Regions from separate parts of the Homo sapiens genome. Here all the other regions are linked to region 3. Evidence: promoter capture Hi-C in 16 types of primary human blood cells and fetal thymus (Javierre and others, 2016). All regions are on one chromosome and are shown on one strand. Each heading gives the region's core, a stretch centred on a gene start or on the middle of the fragment in contact. The rest is flanking DNA. Distances are from core to core; before and after follow the strand shown.

The links. The method cuts DNA at HindIII sites, captures the fragments that hold promoters and counts their contacts. A CHiCAGO score of 5 or more calls a contact.
Region 1: a contact is called between a fragment that was not itself captured here and the fragment with the promoter of IKZF5 in region 3, in 4 of 17 cell types (neutrophils, monocytes, total B cells and 1 more). The highest score is 17.5, in neutrophils.
Region 2: a contact is called between a fragment that was not itself captured here and the fragment with the promoter of IKZF5 in region 3, in 3 of 17 cell types (total CD8 T cells, neutrophils and total CD4 T cells). The highest score is 5.8, in total CD8 T cells.
Region 4: the fragment with the promoter of FANK1 here is called in contact with the fragment with the promoter of IKZF5 in region 3 in 1 of 17 cell types (monocytes); the score reaches 7.2 in monocytes.

What each region holds. Positions count from the first base shown.
Region 1 is chr10:125,828,293-125,831,125 of GRCh38, forward strand. BCCIP (BRCA2 and CDKN1A interacting protein) reads left to right here. Exons shown (of 7, transcript NM_078468.3): 4 at 2,270-2,359. Among named protein-coding and RNA genes, the nearest start is that of BCCIP, 6.2 kb to the left of the region's middle. The HindIII fragment of the contact is 3,325 bases long and covers 1-2,833 here.
Region 2 is chr10:125,729,229-125,732,049 of GRCh38, forward strand. It overlaps EDRF1 (erythroid differentiation regulatory factor 1), which reads left to right. Exons shown (of 25, transcript NM_001202438.2): 8 at 130-251; 9 at 1,060-1,171. Among named protein-coding and RNA genes, the nearest start is that of EDRF1, 11 kb to the left of the region's middle. The HindIII fragment of the contact is 1,114 bases long and covers 866-1,979 here.
Region 3 is chr10:123,007,411-123,010,403 of GRCh38, forward strand. IKZF5 (IKAROS family zinc finger 5) reads right to left here and starts at 1,385. Exons shown (of 5, transcript NM_001372123.1): 1 at 1,284-1,385. It overlaps ACADSB (acyl-CoA dehydrogenase short/branched chain), which reads left to right and starts at 1,596. Exons shown (of 11, transcript NM_001609.4): 1 at 1,596-1,661. The coding sequence starts at 1,620. RefSeq lists enhancers at 662-891, 1,172-1,501. The HindIII fragment of the contact is 4,856 bases long and covers 102-2,993 here.
Region 4 is chr10:125,895,055-125,898,018 of GRCh38, forward strand. FANK1 (fibronectin type III and ankyrin repeat domains 1) reads left to right here and starts at 1,510. Exons shown (of 11, transcript NM_145235.5): 1 at 1,510-1,601. The coding sequence starts at 1,589. It also overlaps a transcript of DHX32 not described here. RefSeq lists silencers at 1,015-1,094, 1,315-1,394, 1,555-1,694, 1,786-2,080. The HindIII fragment of the contact is 2,086 bases long and covers 517-2,602 here.

The DNA of each region.
Region 1 (2,833 bases), core at 194-2,693, 2.8 Mb after region 3:
GGATTTGTACATTTTGAGTTTGAGTTACCTGTGAGATACCGGGTAGCAGGTGGAGCCCTGGAGACTTGGGAGTTGGTCGTAAATGTTACTGAGGTCGTAGAAGTGATTGAGATTGCGCAGGGAGGGAAGGGACAGACACCTTAGTAATACCAAGAATACTTCGATGAGTAATATAAGTGGCAGAGCCAGCAAAGGAGATTAAAAGGGATGACAGGAGAAGTAGAAGAAACAATAGTGCAGTGATGTCATACACAGCAAGAAAGATAACATTTGAAGGAGGAGGGGATGGTCATCTTTATCAGATAGATGTTGTAGAGAGCTCAACAAAATAAGGACTGGTTTAGACCCTGGGTCTGCTGCTTATCATCTGGTGGTTCTTTGGGTTATCTGTTGTTTGTATAACAAACCACCCCATAGCTTAGTGTCGTAAAATAGCAGTAGTCATTTATTTGGCTAATGGATCTACAGTTTGGACAGAGCTCAGTGGGCACAACTCATCTGTGCTCCTGCTCCATCATGTTAGCTGGGGTGGCTTGACTAGGGGCTGGAGGATTCCCTTTCAAGATGGCTCACTCACATGACTGGCAAGTTAGCCCTAGCTGTCTGTCGGGAGCTTAGCTGGGACTCTGGACCAGGGGCCTTAGTTCTTCTCCATGTGGGCCTCGTCACACATTGGTTTGCTTCCAAGAGCAAGCTGCCCAAAAGAAGCAGGCAGAAGTGATATAGTGCCATTTCCACCATTTGCTTAGTCTTTACAGATAGAAATTTCTATCTAGGGGGAGGGCACATTGATCCCACCACTCCATGAGAAAAGTACCTAGGTCACTTTGTCAGAAGAGCATGTCCAAGGAGAGATCCATTGGGGCCATCTGTGAAAGATACAGTCTGCCACAGTACCTTAATCTGTTTCCATTTCTGTCTCTGAAAATGAGGATGGTACTAGCACCGATCTTGTAGAGTGCATGGGTAAACAAAATGAATTGCTGACTGCTTAAAACAGTGTCTGGCAGCTGACATGTGCTACATATGTGTAGCTGTCACTGTTGATGTCTTTTTCCTGTTCCTAGCACCTGTTCCCTAGCCTGTTGTGAAAAACACAACAAACAAAAGCTCCATTCAGTCTAATGTTCCACTCTTAAGTACATCACCTTCAGAGCCAAAATTCTTGAAAAGTAATCTTAAGTCATGGTTTCTACTTCCTGTCCTCCTATTCATTCTTCAGACACTCTTATCTGACTTTTACACCACTAAAATTCGGACACTGAGTGATAGGGTCACCAACATACTTGTTACTAAATACAGTGTACACTTTTCAAGGCTTCTGACAATATTAGTAACTTTATGGCACTCAATGTAAAGAAAATGAGAAATTAAACCTATGGGGCATTCCTTTTATTAGGGCAATGGGAAAAAGCAGACCACCTGCCCTTTCATCAAATAAATGTGATCTCTAGCTGATTCGTGTCTTAGAAGACCTAATGGATATGGAGGAGAAGCAGTTATTTTTATCCTTGAAAGAGGTTATTATCTAATGGCAGGATTCACTCTTTAAATGGATAATCACATCAATAGCTCTGCAGTTGTAACTGTGGCTTCTTGGGATTCTCCAGAGACACTTGAGGTGTCCTGAGGATAGAGACTTCTTGTTCTTAGTAAAGGGACTACCCATAGTGTTCGGTGGAGCCAGTCCCTAGGATCATAGAACAAAGGGCAGGGGGTTCTCTTTTTTCCCCTTCTCTCTTGCTAATGTGATAGGTGTAAGTGGCCCTCAAGCATTGCCTAGCTTCACTAATGGTCAAGACTGACAAGTGTTCTGGAAACTCATGAGTTTTAGATGAAACAATGCTGTGGGCCAGCAGAGAAGCAAGGCTTGGCTCCAGCCTAATTGTGTAGAAAACAAATGAAAATGCTTTATTTCATGAGGTTTATCTCTTCTGGATTTGTATTATATTGAGAATCTGATAAAAGAAAATGACTTAATCTGGTACAAAGAAATTTCAATCTGTTCAGAATCTGAAAAGAGGAACAGAGTCGAGGTAAAGCGAAATGAACAAGGTCACACAGTATTTAAGATACAATGCTTTCCAAGATGATGGTGGTAAAACTGTGACAGTATTTAAAATACAATGCTTTCTAAGATGGCGGTGGTAAAACAAAGTTTTGCTTTTGAAAAGTGAAAAGATAAATGAGGCCTACATCCCAAGACTTGGTTTTATACTCTTGGTATTATACTAAATATAACATTTAAATATTTTTTCTTTTAAAATAGCAAACGGATGTTTCAGAAGACAGCAATGATGATATGGATGAAGATGAGGTTTTTGGTTTCATAAGCCTTTTAAATTTAACTGAAAGAAAGGTTGGTTTCACTGGATGGCATCTGAATGGTTATTTCTTAGGCCAAAACCACTTTTATTTAATGCATGGTGAAAATGTCTTTTATGTTAAACAGTGATATTAACTATAGGGATAAGTGCTCTTGTGAAATCTTATTGTAATCCTTTTTCAATATGAAGGTGGTGGTGTTGGGTCTGTACCCAGTTAAAGTTGTTTACTCCCTGTGGTTTAGGGAATCATCTGGCTTTGCAGTCCTGATGTTGGTACTGATGCAGGAGCTGTTTGTGCTGTCTCTCTGCAGCTGTTATCTTTGCTACTTGTGTAGTGGGGATATTCTCAGGCTTTGCTGCCTCAATGTTGAGGGCATTTACTGACATTTTATTTTGTTTCGATTCATCTCTTTTTATTGATTCTCTGATGAGTTGTAATAAAAAGTAAACCAGCTGCTTACCCACCTCAGAATAAGATGCAGGCTACACTTAGTCTTTAATTTTGA
Region 2 (2,821 bases), core at 173-2,672, 2.7 Mb after region 3:
CTTTGTGATCTTAGCTCTGGGGCCTGACTTTGTCTTCTTTGTCTCTTCCTTTTTCTAGTCTTTTTATGGATCATGGGGGGAAATTACAGATTGACTGTTTATTATAATCCTCCCTATTTTAAATCACAGGGTCTTAAAAATGATTTTGTTCGGAATATTCTATGGACATTTGAAGATATCCATATGTTGGTCGGCTCCAACATGCCCATATTTGGAGGAGGCAGATACCCAGCAGTCAGCTTACGTCTCAGGTGAACTAACATCATACCCCTCCTCAAGCTTATGGTATTTAAATTCTTCCTTTAGAATCAGTGTTCCATCAGACTGAGGTTGCAGTGAGCCAAGATCATGCTACCGCACTCCAGCCTAGGCGAAAGAGCAAGACTCGTCTCAAAAAAGAATCAGTGTTCCATCTATTTGGGCATCTTCCTCTTTCTCTAGGTTTTTTCCCCTCCCTCCTTCCCCTGCCAGTTGAAATGGCCACATTAAGGAAGGAGCTACTGTCAGCAGATGCTGAAAGGCAGGCCTATAGCTGAGTCTTCATTCTAGACCTCATTGAATAGAGCCAGAGGTTTGTTGGACTGGCCTAGTCTTAGGTCTGAATCTACAACTTGTGAGAATATTCAAGAGAGTTTATTTAATTAGTTAGATTCCTACTAACTACTTGTGAGCATTTTTCTTAATGCTCCACGTGTATTTGTTGATATTAGCCAATGTGAATTCCAACTTAAGCATGGTCTTGTATGGTGTTCAGTCTTTCTTCAAGTTGTGTGTGAGGAGCAGGCAGTAGGCTCACCGTCCTTTCCTATTATATTGTCTTCTATTCTTACTGAAAACTTACCAATGTCAGTTAGAAATACAAGCAAGCTTTTGGAAAGATGTTAAATATAGCACAACCACTGAGCTGCATGTGCATATCTTATCAGAAAAGAAAGCATAGATGGCATTTTCTATCTAGAGAGGACAGCTTAAGATACTTAAATGGTGAAATAACTTTCAGATGATTAATTAAGGAACATCTTAATTAAACCAAATAACACTAGAAATGTATATTTTTAGGGATAACAACAAACCAATTAATGTGCTAACTGGAATTGACTATTGGTTGGACAACTTGATATGCAATGTGCCAGAGCTTGTGATGTGTTTTCATGTAAATGGAATTGTACAGGTAAGATACAGTGTGATTTTTCTGATCTCTCAAATGCAAATTGGTACAGAGAGTTCCTCACCAAAGTCTTTACGGCCCTGAAGTACTAAGGTGCATTTTTGCCAGGGAAGATAGCTGTGAATAAACTGAATTTGAGTGTACATTTAAGTTGGTGATAACAGAATTGTAGATGTTATAGAAGTATAATTTTACAGGTAATTTGGAGGAAGTTCATAAATATATGAAAACCTGCATTTGTAGCCATAGAACTCTAATTTTAATGCCAAGCTCTCATTAATAATTAACTGAAAGTGTCTACACAATGGAGGCGTTTCTTCGTTATGCAAATATCTACTCAGTACATGCAAAGTTTTAGGGAAAGGTCTTGTAAAAATTGCATATGGTGGATAGCTTATATAGCAAATTCTTATTGAGCATATTCTGTTTAGAAGACACGTATCCCCATTATAAGTGTTGGGGGAAGCTAGGCGTGTTGGCTTATTCCTGTAATCCCAAGCTACTCAGGAGACTGAGGCAGCAGGATCACTTGAAGCCGAGAGTTCAAGACCAACCTGGGCAACGTAGTGAGACCCTAATTGTAGAAAAACAACGCACACACTTAGTTGGGCATGGTGGTACATGTCTGTAGTCCCAGCTACTTGGGGGCTTGAAGCAGGAGGATCACTTGAGCCCAGGAGTTTGAGGCTGCAGTGAGCTATGATCGTGCCACTGCACTCCAGTATGAGTGACAGAGCAAGACCCTGTCTCAAAAAAATAAAAAAATTGAGAATTTAAACAATAAATAATTGTTGAAGGAAAACAAAGAATAAGCTTGGTTGTTATTCAGAAAGAGATAATCTAATGGGAAATAATATGCAGAGAGAACAGTAGGAGACAGATAAGAATTAGAAGTGTAGCACACAGAAATCTAGATCATCAGAGAAGGGGGTGAGCACTTCCATTCAGGTCTGGAGGAAAGACTTTGTGGAAGAAGGGACATCTTAACTGAGTCCTGAATGATAGCTAGTATCTCAAAAAATAAGAGCTGGATTTTAAAAGTCTAGTGTAAATACATGAAAGGATTGATAATAAATCCAGCTAGGGAACACAGGATTTATGTAGCAGAATAGCTGCAAGTAAGGTTGGAAAAGTCATGGTCAAATGATGGAGATCTTAAATGTTGAGCTAAGGAGTATGGACTTGGTTCAGTTGGTAATCTGGAATCAGAAGGCTTTGCATCTAGGAGGGGAAATTTGTTGTGTTAGAATATTAATTTAGAGATAGCATATAGGACAGAAAAGGAGGACTTAGAGACAAGAAAACCAGAGGCATTGTACCATTTTGCAGATAGTGTAATGTACTTTCCACTAGAGAGGAACTATTAAGAATCAACAATGGTAAGAATAGATAGCATTTATTGAGTGCTTATTTTATCCAAGCACTTTGCTGAATGCTTTAAATGCTTTACCTTATTTGATCTTCTTAGCTACCTCACATGCTGTTATTCCTATTTGATGGAAAGAGAGACTGAGGATCAAGGAGCTCAAGTGAGTTGCCCAGGGTCAACTTAGTAGTGAGTGGCGGTGCCAGTCTTTGTGCCTCTCTCTGGCTGAGGACATGCTTTGAACCGTTATATTCCAACCCAGTGATTCTTAACCTGGTTGTGCATCA
Region 3 (2,993 bases), core at 135-2,634:
AGTTTTTGGCAAGATTTTTAATGTCTAAATTTAAGTTAAACTTCAGTTTAAAGAAATTAAGATTAACTTCATTTAGTCACAGCACACTTCCAAAACGGTCAAGCTTAGTACTGCTGAACAGCTGTAGTTGCATAAAAACAACGCATAGTCCTAAGTAGGGAAATGGGAAAGGGCTTTAAATACAAAAACAAAAAAAACATGCACACCCGATAAGGGCACATCTGAATCCCATCCTTCTTATCCTATCATAACACAAAACAGCTACGGTTTTCTGGGAAACATCCTGGACCGCTAGGGGAAAATAACACCAGACATTTCAATTCACTGTAACGAACTCTCATCAATAATAATAACCTTTAGCTGTTGTGACAACACGACATAAATCAAAATTAAATTGAATTTTTAAAATTGTTAGTTCCTACGTTTAAAAAAAAGTTGTTTTAAATACATTCTGTTCTTTCAAAACTGAATTTCCTCAGATCACACAATTTAAGACGCCTTTATGTCTTCTTCCGCTTGTCACACGTCTTTCGGGTTCTGACCAGCACATCAAGGGGACTCTAAGCAGGCCACGTGGTTAGTGTTTGCTAGAACTTGTTTAGCTTCAGATCCAGTCATCGAGCATGCTAGGCTTGGCTACTCGCGCTCCACACAGTTTATCCAAAGATCTAAACCCCGAATGAACCTGAATAGTTATTTGCTACAATGTCTTTCTCAAATCTCACATGTTCCTAAAATAAGGGTGCCCATGCAGTAGAGACGGATCCGGGCAGGATCATTAGATAAAATACGAAGGCTTTAAACGTCCTTCTCCCAACAATCAGCCTGGGACCGGCGTCGGGGCAGCAGCCTCACCAAGATTCGGAGCGACATCCTCGCCAGGATTCGAAACACCTAGGAGACCCGCGCCCGGCTGACTCCCAGCCCCTGGGACCCCGTGAAGACGCAAACCTCGGGACGCCTCCCGCAGAACCACCTGTCAGAGCCAAGCAACAGTCCCCGCCCCGGAGCCTCCGAGCTCCTGCTCGAAGGCAATGACAGCAGGAGACCCCGCTCCCTCGGGGTTCTCGCGGCCATAGGCGCCGCAGTCCACTGCCCTCCGGCTAAAGAGGTCCCGGGCCATCACCTGCCCGCCTACCGACCACGCCCGACCCTCCACTGAACTGAGTCTCCGTCCGGATCAGCCGGCCCGCCACGAACCCAGCTCCAGTCTCCGGCCGCTCCTTCTTATCCGCCCTGTCCTGCCGCGTCGCCGCCGTCCGAGCCGGCAGCCTGCTACTTACCTCCTGACAACTGCATGGAGTAAACCACACCGCCTTGTTAAATGCCGTCGCCGCCGCCGCCGTCTTCGTCACCGTCACAGTCGCCGCCGCCATCTTTGTTGTGTCTCCGACTCCCTTCCCGCCCCCCTGCCTTGCTCAAGTCTCGCGTGAGCAGGATGGAGGGCGAAAGCGAGGAGGGGCCTGTTTGTCTCTCTTGGGGTTCCGTAGGCAGCAGGGGGCAGGGATTAAGGGGGGGTGTGTGCGGGGCGGGTACTGAGTGGGCGGGGCCTTGCTCGGGTAACTCCCAGGGGCTGGCTAGAGACCCAGAGGCGCAGAGCGGAGAGGCCTGCGGCGAGGATGGAGGGCCTGGCAGTGCGGTTGCTGCGCGGCAGCAGGCTGGTGAGTGCGTTCGAGGCTGGCGTCCTGGGGGCCCAGGGCGACCTTGGCCCCTGGAATCGCAGCTGGCAGAGCCTTCTAACGGGCCTCGGGGCGCCGGCCTGAGCCCCGCTCCACGTCCTGGGTCCCCAGACTCTTTACCCGCGGGCAGTCTATGACCCCGACCCCCTTCAGGCCTCTGGTGGAGGCAGCTGGTGGCAAGGGGGTCGGGGCTGTCTAGAAGCTGCTTTGGCGGAGCAAGTACCTTGAGTGGAGTCGGAGGGTCGCGTCCGCAAGATGTCCTTTGCAGGCCGTTGCGTCCTGAGAGCCACCGAGTCTGGATCTCTGGATCTCTGGATGCATTTTGCACAGATGTCACCTCCCTGATGCCCTAACGCACCTTTCCCGAGTGATTACATTTCACACCCCCTCCCCCAAAAAAGATAGTTAAAATATAGGCCCAGTCTCATTCTGAGCAGGTGTCTCCCTGTCCTTCCTTCCGCGGCCCCGCTCAAAGGTAGTAAGGGACTTCGGAGTTGTTCGGGCTTCCCGGCCAGGGACAGAGTTCCCTCTGCCCCTTATCTCATGTCTGGAGCCTGGGTATCTTCCGTGGATAGACTCACCGCCGCCCAGGGGAGCCGGAGCCGGTGCCGGTCCCTCTTCCATGAACTTAAGCTGAAACCAGCCTCTTGTTGTGCTTAATTCTTATCTGTGCACCCACACAAACTGTTAACAGCCCCTGTGTTAACATCCTATGCTCTTCACCCCTTGGACCTATTATATAGCATGCTTTTCAGAACATACACATTTGGATACACTTGTATTTGTCAGTACACTTCACTGGGAATTTTCCCACTGCTTACGTGTGCTTTTAATGTTTCCTTTGCATTTGCTTTAATGAGTTAGGCTTTCCAACTGCTGCTTCAGTCTTATGCCCAGAGGCAGAACTCTGACCCTTTTTCTTATTAGAGATAATTAATGTTATTTGACTGTTTTACAGGCCTGAAGTGCAATAAAAAACAGTAAGTGATTATTGTTTAATACTGTTTATAATTGTTGGTTAATAACTTAGCAAAGAAAATTTCTTTGGTTTTACAATTTGACTCTGTTTTAGAGCCAAAATTTATTGACCGCATACTCTGTGGTAGGCACGTTCTCGTTCTACCTGAGTCATCTCAATTCTCACAACCATCTTAACAAGTAGTTTAATCTTGCAGATGCTGAAAAAGAATAATAGCTTGCCCACAGATAGAAAGGGATAGAGCTGGTGGTATTCGAACTCTGGTCTGATTCTAAACTTAACCTTCATATACTACTGTCTCCCCGTCCTTAGAGATATCAAAAACCTATTTTGTT
Region 4 (2,964 bases), core at 260-2,759, 2.9 Mb after region 3:
CTTGTCAATATCCACACATAAACCTTCTTGTTTTGACAATTAATCTGAAAAAGTCCCCATATAGTCTGAGAGGGGGAAAACCTAATTTGGAAGAATATAATAAATGTCAGTTTCCATCACAGAATATATGCTTCTCAAGTTCAATTAACCTCTCAATGATTCCCTAAGAGGAAAGTAATTCTCCTTAGTGTCCTTGTCATCCATGGAGTGGAAATCTTTCTACTGGCAAGATTAGTAATCACTTCCATGACCCCCAAAACGGCTCTTCCTTCCATTTCCCTCAAGTACTGTCTGGAGCAGCGGTTGGAATTAATAGAGGGGCCATAATCTCCAGACCTGAATACCAAATCAATCCTGCAGCCCCCCACACCCTTAATGCCCCTGCACTTTCTTGCTTATCCTTTTTCTCTCGTCTCCATTTTTCTTTCCTCCTTCTGGTGTTCCGGAACCTATGATACTCTCCTGGTTGTTTGAATTTTTACAACCTACCAGATAATAATCTCTTGTGATCCTCAAAGCTTCCTTAAAGCAAACCCTGAATCACTGTGTTTTAAAACCAGTATGAAAGACTATTGTGTGGGATAATGTTACATTGTTTCACAGCCCTACAAAGTTTGGCCACAAAACGTGTGGGCAGATTCCGTAACTCAACCGGAAACGCGAAGGACTGAAACAAATCAACACACAAAAAACGAAGCCAGCGAGAAAGATCCAACCCGGGCCCCCTGCCTGAAATGGGACACGGGGATGACGGGGCAAAGCCGGGCAAAACCGTGCTCCTGGCTCTCGCGATTCAGGAGACGCGCCAGGCTCACTGGGGACGACAGCGACGACGGCGGCGGCTCGCATTGCTCCACGCTTCCCGTCAGGGGGGCTCGAGGGACCGCCCCAGGCCCGGCCCATGCCCGGGCTCGGAGGGAGCCCCTGGTGCGAGGGCTGCCCGCAGGGCTCCGTCCTCCCGCTGAGGCGCGGCTCCCGGAGCAGGAGGCGCGGAGGCCGCCCTCGGCGTTTCGGAGTCGGGGCGGGGAACGTCCACGGCCAACTGCGGGCAGGGGACCCCCAGGCGGCTACAACAGGTGCGCCGGGGCCGCCCACCCGGCTCGGGGCGCGCCCGCCCCTGCGCCGACCCCCGACCCCTTCCGCCGCCGGGGCCCCGCTGTTACCTGCAGCGGCGGCTCCCGATTCCCGGGAGGGCGGCCCAGGGCCGGCGCCTTACCCGCGGGCAGGCCCACTCGCCCGACGGACGCCGCGGGTCGGCGACAGCGGGGACCGCGGGTCGGCGACGTCGGGGCACAGGTCCTGCGGGGCCGCGGGGGCCGCCAGGGAGGGCGCGACCGCCTGACCGGGCTTCAGGAGCAGTGTCCTCAGCCGGTGACCTGGCCGCTACCCTCGCTCAGTGTCCCCGGCGACGCGCGGGTCCTCACGCGCTCCCTCACTTCCTGCGGCTTTTGGTCCCTCCCGCTCGCCGTCCCTTTAGTTCTGCCCACTTCGCCTCCGGGTTGTCAGGGCAACCGTAGCGACGCCGGCCCTGGCTGAGAGGCGTTAGGAGTCCGGGGGTTCGCCCGCGGAGGCCGGGGAGCAGCCGACCATGGAGCCCCAGAGTAAGGGAGGCCCGGGCTGGAGCTGGGACCGGGGCGGGCGACCGGGCTGGGGCTCCCCGGGAACGAGTGTGGGCGCCCCGCGCGCGACTCCGCAGGTTTCAACGCTCGGACACGGAAATACGGTTTGCGTCTCCTCGCGCTTTTCTCTCCTGGAGAGGGGAGAAGGGGGCTACATCCTGCCAAGTCTGTATGGTTGGGCCGCCGGCGCCCTAGAGTCCGCGCTGGGGGCTGGGAGCGACTGGAGAGCCCCGAGGTATGGGTGGGGAAGGGCGCAGCGACCCCAGCGTGCGTCTTCCTGAAACTTCGCCCGGACGGTTCCATTTACTCCTCCTCCTACTCATGATTTTAGTTTGGTAGTTTGGTTCATTAATTGTAAGTAGCCCATTTTTCTTCTAAAATGTCAGCAATTAAACACGTCCGAGGCTGGGTCTTGTATTTATTAGAGACCCCGTCTTACTCCCCGCCCCCCGCCCCACACCCCTAGTCTGCGACTTGAAGGAGAGAGAGAGAAAAGAAGAGCTTTGTCCAAGTGTATTTGATTCATTCTTAGGGGTTCTACAAGTTAGGACACTCAAAAAATGTTTGTAATCTCTTTTTCTGTTTTCCCATGTTGCTTTCGATGTATGGCAAAAGTTGTGCAGTTTTGAGTTATCAGATCTAAACACGAGCTCTAACTTACTATTTTTGTTGTTGTTTTTACCTTTCCAGGGACTTTGTTTCAAGGCCTTTCTTTCTCTGCCCCGCCTAAGCTGTCTTATTGTTCCTTTTGTTCTCAAAATAAGGGGAGTGTTTTGTATGGAGACTTAAAATTTATCTAAAACCTTTATAGAAGGATGCAGTTTGACTCTCAAACCAAGTCGTCTTATCTTGTACAATTTCAGAAATGAAGAACTCAGACCAAATCTATTCTCTGGGGAAAATGTTGGCATTTTTAAAGGTCATTCGTTTTCCACCAAGAAAGTTTCAAATACTTTTCCTTTTAACTCATTTGCTGAGGAGAAAGCTTGCAAGTTGTGACTTATAGTTGCTTGATAGATTTTGTACAGTATTTGTCATTTGCATTTACAGCTCTTTGGATTCTACATTTTTTTAACCTAGTAAAAGAAATTTAGCATACAAGAACGCTAAAATTTTTGTTTTATGTCAAACTGATGGCAGGCTGTGTATATTCCCGCCTTAGAGAAGTGAGTTGAAATATACCTTTTAAAAACAGCAACTTGGCCTGGCCCGGTGGCTCACGCCTGTAATCCCAGCACTTTGGGAGGCTGAGGCAGGCGGATCACGAGGTCAGGAGATTGAGACCATCTTGGCCAGCATAGTGAAACCCATCTCTACTAAAATACAAAAAAAAAAAAAAAAAAAA